3 separate regions of the Homo sapiens genome follow, and regions 1 and 2 are each linked to region 3. Evidence: promoter capture Hi-C in human tissues and cell types (Jung and others, 2019). All regions are on one chromosome and are shown on one strand. Each heading gives the region's core, a stretch centred on a gene start or on the middle of the fragment in contact. The rest is flanking DNA. Distances are from core to core; before and after follow the strand shown. Region 1 has its middle 17 kb from the start of OR8B2. Region 2 has its middle 34 kb from the start of OR8B8. Region 3 holds the start of OR8B4 (olfactory receptor family 8 subfamily B member 4).

Evidence for each region. The method cuts DNA at HindIII sites, captures the fragments that hold promoters and counts their contacts. A contact is called where the count stands out against the background at its distance.
Region 1: a contact is called between a fragment that was not itself captured here and the fragment with the promoter of OR8B4 in region 3, in 2 of the 25 tissues and cell types used here (aorta and psoas muscle).
Region 2: a contact is called between a fragment that was not itself captured here and the fragment with the promoter of OR8B4 in region 3, in 1 of the 25 tissues and cell types used here (liver).

What each region holds. Positions count from the first base shown.
Region 1 is chr11:124,364,895-124,369,573 of GRCh38, forward strand. It overlaps the pseudogene OR8B1P. Among named protein-coding and RNA genes, the nearest start is that of OR8B2, 17 kb to the right of the region's middle. The HindIII fragment of the contact is 4,114 bases long and covers 1-3,789 here.
Region 2 is chr11:124,477,157-124,481,859 of GRCh38, forward strand. It overlaps the pseudogene OR8B9P. Among named protein-coding and RNA genes, the nearest start is that of OR8B8, 34 kb to the left of the region's middle. The HindIII fragment of the contact is 5,845 bases long and covers 1-4,703 here.
Region 3 is chr11:124,422,244-124,426,712 of GRCh38, forward strand. It overlaps OR8B4 (olfactory receptor family 8 subfamily B member 4), which reads right to left and starts at 2,628. Exons shown (of 1, transcript NM_001005196.1): 1 at 1,699-2,628. The coding sequence starts at 2,628. The coding sequence ends at 1,699. The HindIII fragment of the contact is 10,487 bases long and covers 1-4,469 here.

The DNA of each region.
Region 1 (4,679 bases), core at 483-2,982, 58 kb before region 3:
CCGTACAATAAATACATATTAGCAATTGAGTTTGTGCTGTTTGGGTATACAAAGGTAAATAAGAAATATCTACCAAAAGAAGGTAAATGCATGGTATGCAGCTGCAAAACAGGTTATATTGGATGATCATTATGGAGCCTTTTATATCTGTGACACTGGCTTTTGAAGGGAACACATTCCTGCCATTGGATGATGTACAAGCAGAAGTAAAACAAAATTATCTGATTCAAGCTTCCAGTGGGATATTATGAGTAGAAAATAAGAAACCCCACACCAATGAATTAAATTCTCATATGTACCCTGAAAATACATACATCTATTATGTACCAATACAATAATAACATTTTTAAAAAGAAAACCCACACCCAGTGAGTGGCACAGTGTCACCCTAGTTCTACTTTACCTGATTCTTTGCATAACAATTCGTCTTTCGCCAGAAGAGAAAGGAAGTCCATAATGGAAAAGAAAAAACATAGAAATAAATTTCTTCCTTAATGTTATTCCTAAACTGAAAACATGGTGAAAAGATTTTTTTTAATAGTGAAAATTATAGAGAAAAGAAGAAATCTATTCCAGAAAAATTATAATCAATTTAAAGAAGACTCAGTTTTTTTTACCATGGTAAAAAGAAATAGGATAAGAAGGCTGCTACTATAATATTATAATTAAACAAACAGAATATCCCTGTCTTGTGACTATACACACAGACACATACTATTACTTATCAAAGTTTCCTACTACTCAGGGCTTTTCTTAGGGCAAATTTAACATCTTTGTTCCTCAGGCTGTAGATTAAGGGGTTCAACATGGGAACCACATTTGTATAAAAGACAGAAGATAATTTTCTCTTATCCATGGACCCAGCAGAAGATGGGTTGAGATACATAAATGCACCTGATCCAAAGAACAGAGAAACAGCAATTATATGGGAACTGCAAGTGCTGAAAGCTTTGGACCTGCCCTCCTTGGAACTGATATGGAGGATGCTGGAGAGGATGAAACCATAAGAGATAAAGATGGTAACAGTGGGCACAATGATGTTGATGCCAACCACAGTGAAAACCACCAGCTCATTGATGTAGGTGCTGGTGCAGGAGAGCTGGAGCAGAGGGAGGATGTCACAGAAGTAGTGATCGATGGTGTTCGCATCACAGAAAGTCAGTCTCAGCATGCATCCAGTGTGGGCCATGGCACCAGAAAAGGCCATCAAATAGGAACCAAACATAAGGCTGGAGCACACTGTAGGAGACATGGCAATGTGATACAGAAGTGGGTTACAGATGGCCACAGCGATCATACGCCATTGACGTCAGCACATAACATTCAGAAATGACCAAAAAAAACAGAAAAAGAAAAGTTGGGTCATGCACCCCTTGAAGGAGATAATATTCTTCTCTGAAATAAAGTTCATTAGCATTTTGGGTGTAAACACAGAAGAATAACAGAGATCTATGAAGGACAAGTTAAAGAGGAAGAAGTACATGGGGGTATGAAGGTGTGAGTTCAGCCCAATTAGAGTTACCAAGCCCAAGTTTCCCAACAGAGTGACCACATAGATTACTAGAAACAGGAAGAACAGAGGGGACTGGAGATCTGGCTGATGTGTTAATCCCGCCAGAATGAATTCAGTCACGAAAGAGCCATTTCCAGGTGCCATTCTTCTTTAAGGGAATCTCTGGAAACAGGGGAAAAAAACAAACGGTTGCATTAGAGGACAACCCAGCTCTTTCCACAATGGGTCTGCCTGAGATTAGCCTAACCTGTACCCACAGAATCTGCCTTTACAGAACACCGCCAATTAACCCTAGAGAGTGAAGGCCAGTGCTGCCATATACAAGCATGACTGCTGGAAATAAGGGATAAGGGAGATGGATGGACCAGGACAGAATCGTTTTTTTCCCGTCTCATCATTTCTTCATTCATTTGAGCCCTCCCCTCACAAGTAAAATTGGAGGCAGAGGCCTAAGCGACCGACATTGGCCTCTAATGAAATTAGTCGGATGCAGTGAAAACCAAAACATTGTTTCCAATCCACTAGTAGGGGACCAGAGTCTAGGAGAGGTTACATTACTGTCCCAAGTCACAGTGAAAAAGTTATAAATCTAGGACAGAGAGGGCTCTGTCCATGGAAAGGGAACTTACTCAGTAAATACTGCAACCATTGAGCTTACTAGTGTCCCTGAACATTCTCTGCTCCCCCTTCAAACACATTCTCCAATTTCATTTGAGTTTCAGGATTGCTCAAAATGAGGGGAAATGGTGGATTTTAGATCCCTGGACTTCCGTCTCAATAAAAGAAAACACTAATGTAAATAGAATTCAGAAACTCACCATTCTTAGTCCAGAATACCTTGATGCTTCTTTCACTTTCTTATTTCCCTGTGATTCTGGAAAAGTAATTTCGGGTGTCCAGGTATTTGTTCCTTTGATTCTAAGAACATACAGTCCAGACTTAATTTCTTGTATGTCTTTATGTGTGATTATGACTTTGATTCCCCTCAAGCAGTAGAGAAAAAATGAAGTCTTGATTACTACGCGTTTAGTCGCTTGCTAAGACATAGTAGATTTAATATTAGTTTAATGATATAATGTGCTTGGTTATAAAAAGGGTAGAAGCTTACTCAGCCCCCCTCCCCAGGGAACAGATTCTGGCTGTAATAGAAAATAACGGAACTGTATTTACACCCTGCATCATGATCTGTCTTTACTTCCTTAGGGATTCAATATTTTTACTCAAGTTTTCCCTTCCCTCTAGGGCTCCTACATAATGCAAAGCAGAGCCAGAAATAAACTCCCACATCCCCACCACCTTGATCTCTGAAGGGAAATCATTGTTTTGGTTTTTTTCTGTCTTTCTTCCTTCATGCTGAGCGGAAATTTCCCATAAGGTCTACTTTGAGACTTCGTGTTTTTATGTAAAAACTTTGAAGGACCATAGTAACTCACTTCAGGTATTGTCTCTCCTAGGACATCACCAAAATAACTTTGAATGGCTTACATCACTTCTAAAGAAGGTTTTTACTTTCTCAGGTTTATAGTTTCTGAAATAGGGATACTAATAATAATATCTCATTCACTGGGTGGTGGCAATTAAATGAAATAAGTGCAATGGTAAAAACAGCCCCTGGCACATGACAAATAATCAGTAAATGTCAACTATTATTATTTGTGTTCTCATAACTTCTGGCAGATTCTCCATCAGGATTTTTCCCCTTGAATTTTTGTTTTCCTCTAAAAACTATAAGTTCTGTAAAGACAAAGATCACTTCAGACTTGTTTACTACTTTGCTTCTAATGCTAAGTACGGAGAAGAGTACATAGCAGCCCCTCTTTAAAATTATGAAAAGTATGTTATCTGGCTGAAAGTCTTCAGAATCGAATTTCCATGGTTCTCAGATGCTTAGAGGCTACAAACACAATGACCTCCATGCCTTTCTCTCAGCCACCTCACAAGTTCAGACACTCTGTAGGTTTTAACGGAACTGTGCTATTGAATTGTAGTAGCTTCTAACTGTTATTCTAGCATTTTTCCACATAGTTCCTCTTGTTTAGCCACCTATTCTGTTGCTAAAATAAGCTCTGGAAGTGCAGCTCTGCCTTCCCTAGTTTTAGAACTTCCAGTGGCTCTCCATTACCCACTGAACAATTGAAGCTATATAATAAAAGTGTAAGTTTCAAACTAATTTTCAGTCTCAGTTAAAATTAGCAAGGAAATTGAGTCAGACAGATTATAGCTGATGAGAAGCCATGAAAGAACTATTCTGATTAATTGAAGTATTTTGAGCACATATGATATTGTGTAATTTCTTATTTTTCTCAACAAATATGGGAAAAAGGATATTGGACAATGTTTATGTTTCAGAGTCTGTAAGAGTGTACAAAAAAACAAAAAACACTAGCCAGGGGAGATTACATTTAAAATTTAAGTTTAAATCTTCACAAGCTCTCCTTCTCATCATAATAAATTATAGTGTTTTCTCTTCAATATTTACCTAAAACAATTAAGAATGTACTCCACGATGTTCATCTGTAAAAATTATATGTTTTATTTACTTTCTAAGAAATGTAACTTTCAACCCACATTATCAGTTAGAAAAAAATTTGCTTCAAATTACAGAATCTCTTTAAAATAGGAGCTCATTTCTTTTTTTTTTTCTTGGTCCTCTTGTTTTATTGTTTTATTTTATTTATTTATTTTTTTTTATTATACTTTAAGTTTTAGGGTACATGTGCACATTGTGCAAGTTAGTTACATATGTATACATGTGCCATGCTGGTGCGCTGCACCCACTAACTCGTCATCTAGCATTAGGTATATCTCCCAATGCTATCCCTCCCCCCTCCCCCCACCCCACCACAGTCCCCAGAGTGTGATATTCCCCTTCCTGTGTCCATGTAATCTCATTGTTCAATTCCCACCTATGAGCCACATTTTCTTAATCCAGTCTATCATTGTTGGACATTTGGGTTGGTTCCAAGTCTTTGCTATTGAAAATAGGAGCTCATTTCATTCACATAACAATAAATCTAGAGGCAGAGTGTCCCAGTGTTGATTCAGCAACTAAACCCTCTCATCAAAGACCCATCCTCATCCATTCCACTGTCCTCAGTCTGCTGACCTTATTCCTCGGGGTTTTCACTTTATGTTCACAAAACATCTGTTATAGCTCCAACAATCA
Region 2 (4,703 bases), core at 842-3,341, 54 kb after region 3:
CTATTCACCATTGTAATGGGAGAATACAGCACTTTGGCTCCATGTCAACTTCTCTCAAATTAGTCCCACTAAATTATTGTCACTTGATCTTCAAATACACACGTACAAATATAGCCAATACAATTCAGGGAGGAGAGAAGGTCTTTTCAATAAATGATGCTGATGCAACTTAATATCTTTATGAAAGAAATAAAACAACTGCACACCATACATGATAACTGATTTAAAATTGATCTAAAATCTAAATTTTAAAGGAAAAATCATGAAGCTTTCAAAGGAAAACCTGAGAATGACTTTGTGACTATGTAGTAGGAAAAAAATTAAACAGAAGAAAGCATGAACAGTAAAAGAAGTGGACAAATGAACTTTATTCAAATTGAAATTGAAATATCATTATCAAAGGACATAATTAATGAGTAGTCATGGGGCAAGCCAGAGACTGAGTAAAGATAACTGCAATGTGTGTGTCTGAAAAAGTACTCATATCCAGATTATACGTTTTAAAAAACTAATCAATAAGAAAAAAGAATAACAACACTTTTTTTTTTTTTTTTTGAGATGGAGTCTCACTCTGTCGCCCAGGCTGGAGTGCAGTGGCGCGATCTCGGCTCACTGCAACCTCCGCCTTCTGGGTTCATGCCATTCTCCTGCCTCAGCCTCCCAAGTAGCTGGGACTACAGGTGCCCACCACCACACCAGGCTAATTTTTTTGTATTTTTAGTAGAGACGGGGTTTCATCATATTAGCCAGGATGGTCTCGATCTCCTGACCTCTTGATCCGCCTATCTTGGCCTCCCAAAGTGCTGGGATTACAGGTGTGAGCCACCGTGCCCAGCAACAACACTATTTTTAAGTAGCCAAATGACTTGAACAGGCACTTCACAAATGGTGATGTCCAAATAGCTAATGAACATATAAAAAGTGCCCAACAAGGCTGGGTGTGGTGGCTCACACCTGTAATCCCAACACTTTGGGAGGCCAAGATGAGAGGATCACTTGAGCCCAGGTATTTGGTAACAGCCTGGGTAACATAGTGAGACCTCATCTCTACAAAAAATAGAAAAAGTGGCCAGGTGTGGTGGCATGTACCTATAGTTCCAGTTGCTCAGCAGGCTGAGACAGGAAGATAGCTTGAGCCCAGGAGTTCAAAGCTCCAGTGAGCCATGATCACACCATCGCACTCCAGCCTGACAACAGAGCAAGACTTTGTCTGTTAAGAAAAGGTCAGGAGTTCGAGGCCAGCCTGGCCAACATAGTGAAACCCCGTCTCTAGTAAAACTACAAAAATTAGCCAGGTGTGGTGGCAGGCTCCTGTTACCCCAGCTACTCGGGAGGCTAAGGCAGGAGAATTGCTTGAACCTGGAAGGTGAAGGTTGCTGTGAGCCGAGATCATGCCACTGCACTCCAGCCTAGGCGACAGAGCAAGACTCCGTCAAAAAAAAAAAAATCATTATTTATCAGGGAAATATCTAAAAGACTAAAGCAATACTGTACTACACACCCAACGGAGTAATTAAAATGAAAAATACTGAAAATAAGGATGAAGAGTATCCTTTTCTGGAATTTATTGATGGGAGTGCAAATCAGTTTAAATATTTTGGAAGACAATTTGATAGCATTTAGAAGCCTAAACATATGCCTACCTTGTGACCCATAAAATCTACATCTAGGTATATACCCAAACAAAAATAAGTGTATATTTCCAGCAAAATACATGTTCAAGAATGTTTATAGGCCAGGCATGGTGGCTTATGCCTGTAATCCCAGCACTTTGGGAGGCCGAAGCAGACAGATCACGAGGTCAGAAGTTGGAGGCCAGCCTGGGCAACATGGTGAAACCCTGTCTCTACTAAAAATACACAAATTGGCTGTGTGTGGTGGTGGGTGCCTGTAATCCCACCTACTTTGGAGGCTGAGGCAGGAGAATGATTTGAACCCGGGAAGTGGAGGTTGCAGTGAGCCGAGATCGTGCCATTGCACTCCAGCCTGGGCAACAGTGCGAGACTATGTCTCAAAAAAAAAAAAAAAGGAATGTTTATAACAGCTTTATTAATAACATGTAGAAATTGAAAACAAGGCAAATGTCCATAAAGAAGATATTGATAAGCAAATTGCTCTACATTCTTACAATGGAATACTAAAATAAACAGCAATAACCAAGAAAACTGTTATGGATGAATCTCACATGACTCTCTATGTTAAGTGAAACGTAAGAAAGTAAATGCACTATTTAACATTTATATGAAGTTCAAGCACGAGAAAAATGAAACTGTGATGATAAAGTAAGAATAGTGAATATTTCCAGGAAGAGCATGGGGAGTAGTAATTACTGGGAAAGGGCAGGCAGGAGTACCCTGAAATGATAAAAAATCTGCTATATTTTCATTTGGGTGGAGGTAAGTAATCATAGCCTTATAAATGTGAAAAAAAATCATCGAGCAGTTAATGTTTGTGCACTTCACTGTAAAATTTATATTTCAATTTAAGAAGGAGTAGGGTGTTTTCATTGTACTGATTCTCCACCATTCCCAGTGCACCCTCAATCCATGTGTCTTGAATTTCATCATCATTCATCTCCCTTAGCATCAAAACACAACCCTCCCCTACACTTTCATTTCCTGAATTCTATCCTCGTTAAACCAAAAGATTCCAAAGGAAGAAAGCTAAACATTAATCCGAACTTCCCCTTTTTCTAATAGAAGATAACTTTTCAAAGTTTGTAAATTAAACTATCTTCCAGACAGTTCATATGCCATGACTTCTGAAATAATTGTTACCATTACTAATGTATTCAGATCAAAAAAATTACTCTCATTCGTTATACAAAGTTGTACTTCCACTTACCCAATGCTGTGAATATATGACCTCTCCTAAGACCACCGTCCCTTCCCTTTATGCCCTATTGTTATTAATAGAAGGTCACAGATATATGCAATGTCTTAACTATATAATGGCAATTGCCTCCCCTAACAACTAGTTGGCTGCCGTGGTTCTAATGGCTCACTTATCCAGAGCTGTCTATTACTAATTTACATTATTCAGACCTTTGAGGTGAGGCTCCAAATTCTGTCTCCGTTAATCTTCAGATGAAGAATAAAGCTTGTATCTAACAAATTTAACTCCCTCAACTCTGTTTATCTCTCCCTTAGAAGGCCTTCTATTGTAAGCCTTCACTCAAGGCTCTATACCATCTCCATGGGCACCATCCTTGATTCTATAAGGAACCTAATCTACTTCTCACTCACACACCCCAAAATTCTTTAAAATTTTCTCTTATCTTTTTGTCAAGACCACATCAACCACATTTTTCACTTCCAACACTCTTGCAAAAATGTTATTCCAAAAATTAACCTTTGAAAAGTTGCATGACATCACTATGAATATAATTAGATATCTTTAAATGCAAAAAAAAAAATTTTAAATGAAATCAGTCAGGGAAACGATGGAACAAGGAAGTGTAGCTGAAGAAAAACACAGCAGATTGTATTAAAATTCAAGAGCCTGGACTCTAGTTTCAGCTCTGGCATCAGGTACATGTGTGTCCTTTGGCAGCCTACAAAATATTTTTGAGTGTGATGTATTGCATGAGGAGACTGGAGTAAATGATTTCATAAGCCTATTCAAGATTAAACCCTGTATAACAGTAGAAACTATTCTCATAAAATAACAATTGGAATAGTTGGTGTGGATAAGCAGTGCAGGGTGTAAGTGCACTTAAGAATACATTTAAAATTTTTCTCTAAGTATAGGAGAGAAAGCAGTGGCATTTGTTCCCTCACTGAAAAAAAGAAAAGAAACCCCCTGATTAACAAAGGTTTGGATTCCCTTTCTCATTCATTTTTAAGAGACTAATTTTCTGCAAAAGGTTCTCCTCAGGGCAACTTTGACATCTTTATTCCTCAGGCTGTAGATTAATGGGTTAAACATGGGCACCACAGCAGTACAAAAAATGGAGGACACTTTCCCCTGGTCCAGGGGTAGAATAGAAGGTGGTTTGAGGTACATGAAAGCACCTGACCCAAAGAAAAGCGATACCACAATTATGTGGGAACTGCAGGTACTGAAGGCTTTAGACCTGCCCTCTGTGGAACTAATGTGGAGAATGCTGGAAAGAATAAAACCATAAGAGAGAAAAATGGTGACAATCGGCACCCCAATGCCAACGGTCACAATAATAAAAACCACCAGCAAATTTATGTAAGAGCTGTTGCAGGAGAGCTCAAGGAGAGGAAGGATGTCACACATATAGTGATTGACAAGGTTGTCTCCACAAAAGGACATAAACATTATGTTTCCCATATGAGCCACAGCCCCAAAATCCCCATCCCATAGACACCCAGTAAAAGGAGCAAACACATCTGGGGAGACATGGTGACCGTGTACAACAGTGGGTTACAGATGCCCACGTAGCGGTCATACGCCATCGCTGATAGAATATAGGATTCAGAAAAGACAAAGAAACAGAAGAAAAAAAGCTGAGTCATACACCCTGCATAGGAAATGATGTTCTCTGAGACAAAGCTCATCAGCATTTTAGGGGCGAGGGTAGTGGAATAACTAAAATCTATGAAGGACAAGTTGAAGGGGAAAAAGTACATGGGGATATGCAGGCGAGAGTTGAGCCCTATCAGGATTATCAAGCCCAGGTTCCCCACCACCGTGACCGCGTAGAAACCTAGAAACAGGAAGAAGGCGGGGATCTG
Region 3 (4,469 bases), core at 1,378-3,877:
AAAAGGAACTTCTTTCCAAAAGAGCCAAGCCAGTGTCTCATTAAGTCAAACATACTTTCACGGCTACTCACCCCAGTGCCAATATGGAGTGAATGCAGGGAAAGTTATTCTTGGACTTTGATGCATTGATTACATAATTGTTCCTTTCCATTCATATCCTATGCCCTGACTTAGTTCTTGTTCCCGCTCATTTATACCAATGGTAATTGTTTTTTTTTCTTTATCCGTATCAAAGTAGATTTACTTTTGTCCTTCCTTATTCTTGATTCTTTTCTAATATCCCAAGACCCCCATGGACCTAGACACAGACAGTCCACTGGAGGGTGGGATTCAGCAAGGCCCAGAGGACTGACCAGCAGTGGTTGAGTAAGGTATTAAATCAATTCCAATGAATGAATTAATATATTTAAGGTACCTCAAATGGTGCACAAACACATGGTGCAAGTTCAGTAACTGTTAAGTGTCATTATTATCATAATCAAAGCATAATCCAAGTATCAGAGTTTTTCTCCTCCAAAGATCTTCCTCTAGCAGATTTGGAGAAGATAGATAGAGTTTGTCTCACGTCTCCTGTTGGTCAGACCTGTGCTGCAGTTGCTTCTCTGCCCTGCTCTCAGCTCTCCCTCAGAATGTCTCCTGGCCACGAGCTGGAGCACTGAACTCTTCAATGTAGAACAGCAGAACCTTTAGCAGAGTAATACAGAGTGGTCTTTGGCACTCAAAATCCAGATCCCTTCCAGACTCCCTGAGAGTGGGACGTGTAATATGACTCCTCTTTCTTTCCGATTCTATATTGATTAACTGTAATACACATACAGACACACACACACACACACACACACACATATAAACATGCACACACGTTGTCAGAACTGTAAAATCTAAATCCACTTTAAAGAATAAGCAATCTTCCTAAAATCCAGTAGTGTGCTTAGTATCTCCAGAGCAAGGCAGAGGCCACATTTTACAGATCATGCAAATCCGTGGAGTTCTTCCTTGTTTCTTCTTCCAGCCTGAGTCTCCGGAGCCTAAGAAATTGGCCCAATTACACAGGATCACTTACCCCTGATTACCATTCCAAGGCCCAGAAGCTTTAGAACTTTGAAATAAAAGATTTGGATTTGATTTATCCTTACAGAGCAGATCATAGAAAATTCTTGTGTGAGGGCTTCTTTTATGTACATACATGTATATGAAAAGGAGGGTTTATGATCTTCCTGACCAAGCAACCTCCTGAAGAGCTGGATATATAATCATATTAGCACTGGCACCAAGGTATCTACCATTGATCTTTAATAAGTCTGCTTATGTAACTAAAGAGAAAACACTCCTCAACCTTTATACCACCACCTGCCCCTTGTTCCAGCCAGAAACGTTCTTGCTCAGAAAAACCCATTTAGCCTACCAAGAAAAGAATGGAAGGCATGGAGCCTCATCTTACTCATCTCTTGGGCCTAATACAGAGTTCAGTAAACAAAAGGCATTTCATAGACACTAACTTGCAGGCAGTGAGCCAATTTAATTGTTGCAAAATAATATAGTCCTCAAGGAGAGTATAGGAAAGAGATTTCCAATTTTTAAAAGTGGAGAGGAGACCCTCTTTGAGGAAAAATATTAAAATTCCTCCGCCTATAAATAGAAAGACACTTGAGTATCATGCTTACCGAGAATCGGTTGCCAGTGATATGAAGAGACCCATTAGAAGAGCACTCTCTTCAGGGTTTTGCCCAGGGCAAGTTTATCATCCTTATTCCTCAAACTGTAGATCGAAGGGTTAAGCATGGGAACCACATTGGTGTAAAAGACTGAGGCAAATCTGCCATGGTTCATAGAGCCAGGAAAAGATGTTGTTAAGTAGGTGAATGTCCCTGACCCAAAAAACAGAGCAACAGCAATTATGTGGGAGCCCCATGTGCTAAAGGCTTTGGATCTGCCCTCTGCAGAAGGAATACAGAGGATGTTGGAGAGTATCAAAGCGTAAGAGATGACGATGCTTATGCTGGATAGCATGGTGATTACTCCAACAACAATGAAAAATACCAGCTCACTGACATGGGTGCTGGTGCAGGAGAGCTGCAAGAGGGGGAGAACGTCACACAGATAATGGTCAATGACGTTGGAATCACAGAAGGTCAGTCGCAGCATGCTTCCAGTGTGGGCCATGGCCCCAGCAAACCCTACCACATAGGAACCAAACATCAGCAGAAAGCAGACCCTTGGGGACATGGTGACCATGTAGAGCAGGGGGTTGCAGATGGCCACATAGCGATCATAGGCCATTGATACCAACACATAGCACTCAGAATTGACAAAGAAACAGAAGAAAAATAGCTGAGTCATACATCCCACATAAGAGATGATACTTTCTGAAACAAAGTCATTCAGCATTTTGGGGGTAAACACACAGGAATAACAGAGATCTATAAAGGACAAGTTGAAGAGGAAAAAGTACATGGGGGTGTGAAGGCTAGGATTTATCCCAATTAAGGTGATCAAGCCCAAGTTGCCCACCACAGTGAACACATAGATCCCTAAGAATAGAAGGAAAAGAGGGAGCTGGAGCTCTGGCTGTTCTGATAATCCCACAAGGATAAACTCAGTCACTGAGGAGCTGTTTCTCAGAGTCATTCTCTCTTGGCGAGCTGTCTGGGGAAGCAGAGGGCAAAACACAAAGAGTCATGACAGGCACAAGCATGGCTAAGGGAAGAAGACTCTAGTGGACCAGCCAGTGTGCAGATGCCCTCTCTTCCATCCTCCCTCATCTACACACCTCCCCACCCTGAGGTATTAACAACGTGTCTGTGAGAGGATCTCAGCTCTGCTGGGCCGATCATGAATTCAAGCTAGCATCTGTTACCATGGGCAGCAAGAATTCCGTCTCTGCTTGAGAGATGACGAGGGAGACAACACACCTGAATTGGCTGCCCAGGGACTCTCAGAAAGACACCCTGAGAACCAAGAGTACAACCTGGGCCGCTGCCTCAAGAGCTGAGAGACCAGAGCTCTCAAGGTCACCAGGATGCCCTCCCATTCTCTGCCTCCGTCTCCCAACTAGATAGTGGATTTCCATCTGGAGAGAAAGCCAAGAGTGTTACCTGCTGGCTCTTTACATCCCACCCGCCTCCTCGAAGACCCTCCATTCCATCTCACCTCAGGGTCAGTGTTGAGAGCAGAGACGGGATCCATACTTCCCAGAGCCCTTGGTTGTGGGTTTCAAAGAGACCATCAGGAAAGACAGGATTCGGACCTTCACCTTCCTTCTCCCGGGCCCCACTCAGTGCTGGGCCTTACGCCATCTCTTTTTCCATTAGCCAGAAAGAGAAAATGGTGCTGCTTGTGCAGAAAGCACACAGCCTTGCGTATTACCTCTTTTGACTCCCTTGGTGCTGAGAATCAGAGCTTTTACAGACCCCAGGCTCCAAGGTGCTCAAGGAATAGACCATGGTTTCTGTTTGTGGATTTTCCCAGGTGGTCTTGACAACTTCAGGAAAAAAAACTAGGAACTCTCATTTTGACCAGAACCCCAGCTGTCATATCACAGAGGAATTTAAGCTGCTTGACGATCTCAGGGACCTGATTAGACACAGTTTCCCCTGGGAATTTCTCCAAGATCTGTCTCTATAGGGAAGGAATTGCACTGTCTTTGTTTACAGCCTGGATAACGGTGCTTACCTAGCATCTTGGGAGTGGGGGTTCCACTCAAACTTTCCCTCTACTCCAGGGATTTCATGTTATTCAGTGCTGAGTTTGGGGACTCATTTTTTCCTTTCTCATTAACTCTCAGAGCCTAAGCTTGAATTTAAGAGTGAATAGCCCCAACCTAAGCCACCATCTCCAAATCTTCACAGGGAGCTATGAGAGTAGGACCCCTCAGAAAAGGTCAGATCAGATCTACAGAGAGCACCTCAGATAAAAGGCTTCTTGGACCATGCGCTGCTCAGAACAGAAACCACACCACCTCCACCACAAACACCACCTACTCGCAGCTCTAATAAGGGCCGCAGACAGGCCTTTACTATATATGAAGAGATTAAAATATCACAACACATATGCTAGAAAGCACACACACACACACACACACACACACACACACACACACACACCCCTACACAGAGTTACTCTCTAGGCATGCAGGCTTAAGGTATAATGGGAGATGGATGTAAGGGTCTAATCCTGCCATTATTCAGATGACAAAGCTGCTCTCCATATGATCTGCTAGATGAATATTTTAAGAAAAATTCAAAGACATGGGAGCATCTGCATTTGTAAGTTTCACTAAGGCTACCTAAAATAATCCCAGTTCGCCTGGGACAGTCCTGACTTACACTCATTATCTCTGTATAATTATTAATAGCATACCCTTTCACTCTCAGAAGTGTCTGGACTTGGACAACAAATTGTGTATACTAACTAAAAGTAAGTAGGCATATTTACCTAAAGACATGCCAAGATTGTGCACTGCAGCGTTG